Linked DNA regions of Homo sapiens: all the other regions are linked to region 1. Evidence: promoter capture Hi-C in human tissues and cell types (Jung and others, 2019). All regions are on one chromosome and are shown on one strand. Each heading gives the region's core, a stretch centred on a gene start or on the middle of the fragment in contact. The rest is flanking DNA. Distances are from core to core; before and after follow the strand shown. Region 1 holds the start of SYT5 (synaptotagmin 5). Region 2 overlaps ZNF784 (zinc finger protein 784). Region 3 holds the start of ISOC2 (isochorismatase domain containing 2).

Region 1 (2,953 bases), core at 240-2,739:
CAGGCCCACAAGTTGGAGGTCTAAGTGACGAGGGGGCTGGGTCGGCAGCCCAGGCATCCTCAAGCTCTGGACACCCACTTGAGCCCAGATTCCTGGAAGAGCAGAGGGCTGGGCTCCCAGACTCCTGGGTGCTGTGGGAGGAGGGGGCTGGTATCCCAAACTCTGGTTTCCCCAGGAGAGAGTGGTCTGGTGGGCTTCAGATGAGTCCTATGGGAGCTGGGGATCTGGATTCCTGGTTCCCTGAAGGAGGAGAGGGATGATAGCTTGGATTCCCTAGGTCTTTCCAGGATGCAGAAAGAAACAGGCTGGGGCCTGGATTCTGAGGCAGGAAGGAATTTGGGTCTGGAGTTCTGGCTACTTGAGGACCAAAGGCAGGAAGGATCCTGCCTTGATTTTACTTCAGAAACCAAATCAGTCTTCTATAATCTGGGGTCGGAGGGAGTCCCTGTGCCCAAGGTCTCTCTGCACCCCACCATCCACATGTATTTTTCCTTCTATCCCATAATTTATTAAATCACTGTTCTCCCCAGAGACAGTTGTCCCATGGATTTCTGGGTCTGGAAATAATATTGGATTGGGAGTAGGGATGGGTTCCTGGTATCTAGGGATCGAGGCGAACGTCCAGGAGGGGACTAGAGGGACCCACACATTTGCACATGAAAAAATGTAGGTTTGGGTGGTTGAGTCTCTCAGAGAAGGCAGTGTCCAGACGTCTGTGTCCAGGGTCTGGGCAGTATGGACAGGGCTCGCTGGAGCTAGGTGCTTGGGGACTTGCCTTCTGAGCTTTTCTTTTACTCTTCTCTGTTGTTGTTGTTGTTGTTTTGTTCTGTTTTTGTTTTTGTTTTTGAGACATGGTCTTGCTCTGTTGCCCAGACTGGAGTGCAGTGGCTCACTGCAGCCTTGACCTCCTGGGCCCAGGTGATCTTCCCACCTCAGCCTCTAGAGTAGCTGCCATCACAAGTGCGCACCACCACGCTGGCTCATTTTTGTAGAGACGGGATTTTGCTATGTTGCCCAGGCTGGTCTCCAGCTCCTGGGCTCAAGCATTCCTCCTGCTTCGGCCTCCCAAAGTGCTGAGGTTACAGGTATGAGCCACCGCACTGGCCGCCTCCTGGGACTGGTGTTAGGGGAACTTAGAGGGCGATGTCTGGGGGCTGATAGCTGGGGACTTTGATGCTGAACCCTGCAGAGTCTGGGTCTCCAATGGGGGTCTGGGGTCTCCTAGGTCCTAGGACTGAGTATCCTGGCATGCCGTTCTTTGGGCTATACAGGGTGTGTGTCGTGTGTGTTGGGGCGGGAGGAGTGGAGTGGTCTGGACGGCCAACGACTGGACCAGAAGGCAGAAAATGCTAAAGCACCAGGATAAACATCTGTGGGCGTCATCGAGGTTCCCGGGTGGAGGCGGGAGGAGGGGCGGGGCAGGGCTTTCCGCCTACCCGAGACCAAATACGGGCACACACAATACACACCACACACGCGCGCACACGCACACGGGCACACACGCGCGCACGGGATCCTGCTCCGCTCCGCGGCTCCCCCGCCCCGGAGAGCTCCGCGATCAGCACCCGGGACAGCGCCACCGCCCACGTGCAGGGGGTGGGGTCCGGGCGGGGCTGGCGCCTCGGCGTCTCCCGGGAGTGTCCCGTCCAGCCGCCGAGCAGGTAGGAGCTGCTGGGACCCCCGCCCTCAGCCCATCCGCATCCGCATCCCTAGAGGAAAGGGGTGTGCGAGTGGGGGCTGGGGCACTGGGGAGACAACCAGAGGGAGGGCAGCAGCCTGAAGCGGAGAGACAGGGATCTGGGGACGCGAGACAGGTATGGAGAAGACAAAGAGCCGAGGGCGGGGAGTGGGGCGCAGGCGGAGGGGAGAGGGAGAGACCCTGGAGACAGAGGCCAGGCGATAGGGAAGAGAGACAGGCGGGTTGGGGAGGCAGACACAGGGAAGACGCCTATGTGGGGTCAAGAGGCAGCGTGGAGACCGAGGCGGTCACGAGAGCAGCACGGATGCGTGGAGAGACCAACAGGCCAAGAAGGATGAGGGGGCTCAGCACAGGCACCGGGCAGCCCCCGACCCGCCCTCCAGCAAAATTGGGGAGAGGGAAGAGGGAACCTGCGTCTCAGCTCCCAGGACCAGGTGCGGAGGGAGCAGTCGGCTGTGGGCGCTCGGACCACAGGCTGCCCGCTCCCCACCTCGCGGGACCTCAGGATCCCAGTCGGGCTATTGGGGGGTTCCCAGGCACCGGTGGGCCCCGGAGCGAGCCTGCCCCGCCGGGACTCCGCGTCTGTGCGTCAGCCCCGCCCGTTGTCCTGGCAACAACCCGTTGCCCGGGCAACCAGCTTTGCTCTCACCCCGCTTGAGAGGAGCCCGGCTGTTGCTCTGGGCAACGCGGTCTGCTGGTTCCCACGTCTGCCTTCGCCCGCTTCCGGTTCAGACCCTGCGGAGGGGCGAGGACGAGGCAGAAGTCAGCGGGATGCCTGTGGGGCCGTGGAGGAAGAGGGTATCCCTTTAGGATGGAACTAGGTCCTGGACACCCCCTCTCAAGTGCGGGGAGGCTGATACTACAACTCCCAGCATGACTCGCGGTGGCTGTCCGGTTTCTGCGCGGCTGTTCGCGCAAAGGCCTCATGGGAGTTGGAGTTCTTTGTTGTGCGTGGGGCTCAAAGGACGTCTGGGGTGGGAATGGGGGACTAGGGTGCTTGAGTGTCTCTGCAGAAAAGACTCCAGGACCCCGCCACCATGTTCCCGGAGCCCCCAACCCCGGGGCCTCCATCGCCCGACACGCCTCCCGACTCCAGTCGCATCAGCCACGGCCCAGGTGAGCAAGACCCGGGGGTGGGGGGCCGAGCAGAGAGAAAGCCTGGCCAGGATTCCGAGGGGCGGGATTCGGACGGGTGTACTCGGGCAGGCGGGCTGGAAAATCCGGCTGGGATCCCGGGTCGTCATCCTGGACTGG
Region 2 (2,953 bases), core at 323-2,822, 440 kb before region 1:
CCTAGTCCCCGCCAATCCCAAGGGCGGGCTGGCTGATGGCAGCATGGTGGGCTGGCCTGGGTGTGGAGTGAAAGAGTCACTGTGGTGGGGGCGAGAGGAGGACTTGGGAGCTGGAGGTGTGACACCTTCAGTTCTGTTCCTATTAAAGGACCTTCTGAAGGGCTTCTCTGTCGGTCTTGTATTCGGATTGTCCGCTTTGGGGAGTTGGGGGAGGAGGGGCCTCACCATGGTTTTGCCACCAGCAGTCAGTTGCATCATCTCTTCCTCCAAGCTTCTGTTTCCCCATCATCAGAATGGGGGGTGAGTAGGCCCCACTGTGGTTACGTGTTATGTGGTTCAGCTGTAGGAGAGGGGGGTCAGGGAAGTTTGGCAAAAGCACACTCAACATGCTTTGCATGCTTGTTGAGTGAGAGCCTCTGATTTGCACACCTTTCTGTTCACCCAGTGGGCCCCATGAGATAACTCACAGGCAACTCACAATGTGAACAGAACTCATTCCATTTTCCTCAAAGAAACCTCCATGCTTCTGATGTCATTGGCACCACCACCCAAGCTGGATACCTGGGCAGGTTTAAACCTTCTTCATCCTCATTCTTATGTCCAGTCCCTTATCAGTTTCCCTCAGTTGAGCCAGTTAATATCTTTGGAACTGGAACGTGTTTTCGGCATCACTACACTTGTAGACCAACAGTGGTCTCACACACAGACAACTGCACAGCAGTCCAGTGCCTGCATTTTTTTTTTTTTTTTTTTTTTTTTTTTTTTTTTTTTTTTTTTTTGAGATGGAGTTTTGCTCTTGTTGCCCAGGCTGGAGTCCAATGGCACAATCTCTGCTCACTGCAACCTCTGCCTCCTGGATTCAAGCACTTCTGCCTCAGCCTCCTGAGTAGCTAGGATTACAGGTGGGCGCCATCACGCTCAGTTCATTTTTGTATTTTTAGTAGAGATGGGGTTTCATCATGTTGGCCAGGCTGGTCTCAAATTCCTTACCTCAGGTGATCTACTCGCCTCGGCCTCCCAAAGTGTTGGGATTACAGGCGTGAGCCACTGCACCCGGCCACCTGCCCTCTTCATTCTCCATATGGCATCCATGCAGATCCTTGTCACCAAGACACAGCTCCTTGTGGCTTTGAGACGATTTGGAAATGTGAATGCCTACAGGAGCTGGGTGAAAATGTAAATACACGAGCAAGACGGCCAGGTTCAAGGGGAAAATATCAGCAACATGAAATAATGGCGATTGCCACCAGGTCTCAGAATTGGTATTCAACAAATTGGAGAGTGCCTCTTCAGAAGAGGGTAATGGCTGCTCAGCTCCGGAACACAGATTGGGTTGCCACATCTTCCAGTTTCTTTCAGAAGTTCCATTAGTTCACATTATGTAAAATCTTTTGATTTCCCAATGTTGGCAGTCAAGTCAAACTTTTTAAAAAATGCACAGACTAAACAAAAATGTGTTAGTGGTCATATTCGGCCTTGCAGCTGCCAGTTTCCAGCCTCTAGCCTATAAAATCACCCAAGCCCCACAGTTTGGAATTCAAGACCCTTCAGGGTTTAGCCCCCAGGAACCCAACCTCCAGCCATACTAATCTGTCTTAAATGCTCCAGAATAGCAGGGTTTAGTTCAACACACTAAACTCTCCGCCTGGAAATCTTTGCCACTTCTTTTTTTTTTTTTTTTTCTTATTTATTTATTTTTTTGAGACAGAGCCTTGCTCTGTCGCCCAGGATGGAGTGCAGTGGCATGATCTCGGCTCACTGCAAGCTCCGCCTTCTGGGTTCATGCCATTCTCCTGCCTCAGCCTCCCGTGTAGCTGGGACTACAGGCGCCTGCCACCTGCTCCCACCACCACACCCGGCTGATTTTTTGTATTTTTAGTAGAGACAGGGTTTCACCGTGTTAGCCAGGATGGTCTGGAGCTCCTGACCTCGTGATCCACCTGCCTCGGCCTCCCAAAGTGCTAGGATTACAGGCATGAGCCACCGTGCCCGGCCTCTTTGCCACTTCTTTACCTGGAAAACTCCAGTTGGTTTATGTCATCGTTCAGGGATCACCTTCTCCCCAAGAAGCTTTTCTAGCCCCCCTTCCACTCTGACAGGTGACTCCTCTGTGCTCCCTCAAGCCCTAGTGATACTTCCAAGTCCCTTACACTGTGAGGCTCCATTTCCATGTTACTGCTGAACCCTGAACCCTGGGGGCACTGGCACAACGTCTGTCTCATGCTGGGTCTTCAGCATTAGAACATGGAGCCACACAGGGTAGCTGCTCTCCCATGGGTCACACAGGACTCACCCAAGCAGCGCTCTTACCTAGTTTCATCTTCAAGTTTCTTTTTTTCCTTTTTTTTTTTTTTTTTTTTTTTTGAGATGGAATCTCGCTCTTGTCGCCTAGGCCGGAGTGCAGTGGCGCAATCTCAGCTCACTGCAACCTCCACCTCCTGGGTTCAAGTGATTCTCCTGCCTCAGCCTCCCGAGTAGCTGGGATTACAGGCACCTGCCATCACGCCCAGCTAATTTTTGTACTTTTAGTAGAAAGGATGGTTCACCATGTTGGCCAGACTGGTCTCGAACTCCTGACCTCAGGTGATCTGCTCGCCTTGGGCTCCCAAAGTACTGGGATTACAGGCATGAGCCACTGCACCTGGCCTCATCTTCAAGTTTCTGTACTGAAGTACTCTGGGACTGAAGTCCAAATTATTTATTTGTTGAGATGGAGTCTCACTCTGTCACCCAGGCTGGATGCAGTGGTGCGATCTCAGCTCACTGCAATCTCTGCCTCCTGAGTTCAAGTGATTCTCCTGCCTCAGCCTCCTGAGTAGCTGGGATTACAGATGCCCACCACCATGTCCAGCTAAGTTTTGTATTCTTAGTAGAGATGGGGTTTCACCACTTTGGCCAGGCTGGTCTCAAACGCCTGACCTCAAGTGATCTGCCCGCCTCGGCCTCCCAAAGT
Region 3 (2,953 bases), core at 246-2,745, 280 kb before region 1:
GGCCAGGCCCAGGTCTAGGACTTGAGGATTCAGCTGTGAACGAGGCAGACGGGACCCCTGCCTCAGGGAGCTCCCTGTTCTGTGTGCATGTGTGTGTTTTGGCGGGGAACAGACAATAAAAGAGTATATCCATGCATTTTTCAAAAAGCAAGATTCATTTCCAATTCAGATTGGAGTTAGTGCTGAAAAGAAAATAAAACACAAGGCCGGGTGCGGCGGCTCACACCTGTAATCGCAGCACTCTGGGAGGCCAAGGCAGGCGGATCACTTGAGCCCAGGAGTTCAAAACCAGCCTGGGCAACAGAGTGAGACCTCCATCTTTACAAAAAAATTAAAAAATTAGTCAGGTGTGGTGGCGCATACCTGTGGTCCCAGCTACTCAGGAGGCTGAGGTGGGAGGATCGCTTGAGCCCGGGAGGTTGAGGCTGCAGCAAGCTGTGATCGTACCATGGTACTCCAGCCTGGGTGATAGAGCAATTTTTTTCTTTTTTTTGATGTTTCAAAAAAATTAAAAACAGCGACCTGATGGAAGGGCTACCTGACACCAGGTGGTCAGGAAAGGCTTTGAAAGCCTGGAAGGTTGGGCCATGGGGAGTCCTAGGATTCCAGGCTGAGGCAGCACACGTGCAAAGGCCCTGCGGTGGGACATTGAGGGAAGAGCAAGAGGAGACCCCTGTGGCTGGAGCGGAGTGAGCAGGGGGAGTGGTGAGAGGCGAGGTCTGCACGGACCAGGAAGGCCGACCATGAATTGGGAGGAGTTTGGATTTATTCCAAGACAGATAGGAAATTCTCTCTTTCTCTCAACCTCCATTTCCAAGCACAGAGTCTAAATTATTCTAAACACCACCCGAGGAGGCAGGTGCTGTACAGATGGGGAAACTGAGGCAGCACAGAGCGCAAAGGACAGGGGGGCGTCAAATTCCTCACTTGATCGCTCCCTCAGCCAGCCCCTTCCTGGAAAGTGCTTGGGTATCTTTGTAAGCCTCCGTTTCTTGAGAGAGGGCCAGGTTTCGAACCGCAGACATGCCTCTACTCTAGGTAAGACCCCTCTCTCTCTCTCCCGGCCTCGGCGGTCTGCTCTGTGCAATGGGGCCGGCCGAGACGCCCTCTCTCCAGCCAGAGTCTGAGCCTTCGGAGACCACCGCGCGACTCCGCCCCGTCGGCCGCCACTCACGCCCTCTACGGCTCTCCATTGGCAGAACGACCTGCTGCCCCGCCCCCACGGCGCCTTTGCGAGCTAATCATTTTCTTGAGACTGACAGCCTTGCCGGCACCGCCCCCCCTGGGGCGGGAGCAAAGCAGCTGCATATGCGGATTGGTTGAGAGGCAGGGGGCGGGGTGAGTTGGTGAGCGCCGATTGCGGGCAGAGGCAGTGGCACATGCGGATTGGCCGGAGAGAGCGGCGAGGCAGAGCATGATGAGTGTCGATTGGACGGCTGGGCCCAAGTGGGCGGAAAACGGACGGTGCAGGGGGTGGGCCACGTGTCCAGCCCTAACGAAACGGTAACCAGCCCTGGGAAGCCCGCAAGAGGCCTCAGCGGTGGCCGTCCGAGAGCCGAGAGGTGAGGGTGCCCCCGCCTCACCTGCAGAGGGGCCGTTCCGGGCTCGAACCCGGCACCTTCCGGGTAAGTCCTCTCTCGCTGCTGGCGCTATTTGGAGACCGACCTTACCGCCTAGCAGATGGGGAAACTGAGGCTCTGCCTGGGCGTCCCGGGCCAAGGTCACAGGACCAGAAGGAGGACTCCACCTGGCCCCGCCAGAATTGGCTGGCCAGAGATTGGAAGCGTCCCCGGGTCGCGCCTGCCGCCTCTGTAACAGCGCTGGGGGGTGGGCAGGTTTAATCCCCATTTCTCCGACGAGAAAACTGAGGCTAAGACAAAGAGAAACTTGCCCAAGGTCACACAGCCAGGAAGTCCGGGCTCCAAGGCCGGGTTTCCGAGACCGGGTGGGGAAATCAACGGCCCTACCCCGCCCCCTGTTGCCGCCCACCTCCAGCCACGCCCCCTTTGGCCTTGGGTACCCTCCACCCAGGCTGAATCTCTCCTCGTTCCGCAGGACACGCCCAACCCTCTCCAGCCCAGACCTCCCCTTCACATCTCTCTCTCTCACACACCCACCCTCACCCCAATTTTTCATCTCCCAAAAACCAGTTCCCCTCCCCGGGATCCCCTATGAATCTTCAGATCATGCCCCTCGCTCGACCAGAAACTGGGGGCCTTTCTCCCCGACTTTCCCCACCGTCCCAGCTGCCCCTTCCTGACTCTCCCCTGTCCCACTGGGCCCCAGCGCCGACCTCCTGCTCTCTGGCCTTTTGCCTCCAGTTCAACCGCACGGCGGGGGCCTGAAGCCATCTTTGTATTTTGCATTTTGAACACTTTTTCTGGAATAATACCACAAACGCAGAAAATCGAACGGTTTGCAAATACACAGCTTAAATAAATATTTATAAAGGGAGCACCCTGGTGTAAACAAGTATCCAAAGAAAAAAGTCAAACATGCGCCACATCCCAGGATCTCCCGCCGTCGTCGTTTCCATCACTGTGGTCCAAGGGCAGTCACTGTCCTGGCTTCTGACGCCATAGATCAGTTTTGCCGGGTTTTGGCTTTATGCCAACCCTTTATTGTATATAGTATTGACTAGACAACTTGTTGCACATTGTCCAGAATTCAGAAGAAACAGAATAGGACCCAGTGAAAAGGCTCCTACAGACTTCCCCGGTGCCTGGTTCACCCGCCTGAGTCTCCCGTTTCTTGCTTGTTTGCCAGAGATAGCAGATATAGATATAGGCAACACAGACACATTTTCCTCTCCCTTTTTTCTTTGGCACAAAAAGGAGCATTCCATACACACTGTTCTGCTTCTTTTTCACTTCTCTCAAACATGTTTTCGTATTGTTACTTAAAGAGCTTCCTCGTAATTTTTTCTGGCTGCGAGGAATAACAGAGTATAGTT

What was found. The method cuts DNA at HindIII sites, captures the fragments that hold promoters and counts their contacts. A contact is called where the count stands out against the background at its distance.
Region 2: a contact is called between a fragment that was not itself captured here and the fragment with the promoter of SYT5 in region 1, in 2 of the 25 tissues and cell types used here (dorsolateral prefrontal cortex and lymphoblastoid cells).
Region 3: the fragment with the promoter of ISOC2 here is called in contact with the fragment with the promoter of SYT5 in region 1 in 1 of the 25 tissues and cell types used here (small bowel).

Annotation. Positions count from the first base shown.
Region 1 is chr19:55,178,825-55,181,777 of GRCh38, reverse strand. SYT5 (synaptotagmin 5) reads left to right here and starts at 1,489. Exons shown (of 9, transcript NM_003180.3): 1 at 1,489-1,661; 2 at 2,692-2,815. The coding sequence starts at 2,737. It overlaps PTPRH (protein tyrosine phosphatase receptor type H), which reads left to right. Exons shown (of 20, transcript NM_002842.5): 20 at 1-531. The coding sequence ends at 24. RefSeq lists silencers at 1,474-1,663, 1,544-1,956 and an enhancer at 1,944-2,023. The HindIII fragment of the contact is 16,640 bases long and covers 1-2,953 here.
Region 2 is chr19:55,617,951-55,620,903 of GRCh38, reverse strand. ZNF784 (zinc finger protein 784) reads left to right here. Exons shown (of 2, transcript NM_203374.2): 2 at 1-163. Among named protein-coding and RNA genes, the nearest start is that of ZNF784, 5.1 kb to the left of the region's middle. The HindIII fragment of the contact is 5,055 bases long and covers 1-2,953 here.
Region 3 is chr19:55,460,184-55,463,136 of GRCh38, reverse strand. It overlaps ISOC2 (isochorismatase domain containing 2), which reads left to right and starts at 1,495. Exons shown (of 6, transcript NM_001136201.2): 1 at 1,495-1,625. C19orf85 (chromosome 19 open reading frame 85) reads left to right here. Exons shown (of 2, transcript NM_001386794.1): 2 at 1-136. RefSeq lists an enhancer at 1-110. The HindIII fragment of the contact is 25,257 bases long and covers 1-2,953 here.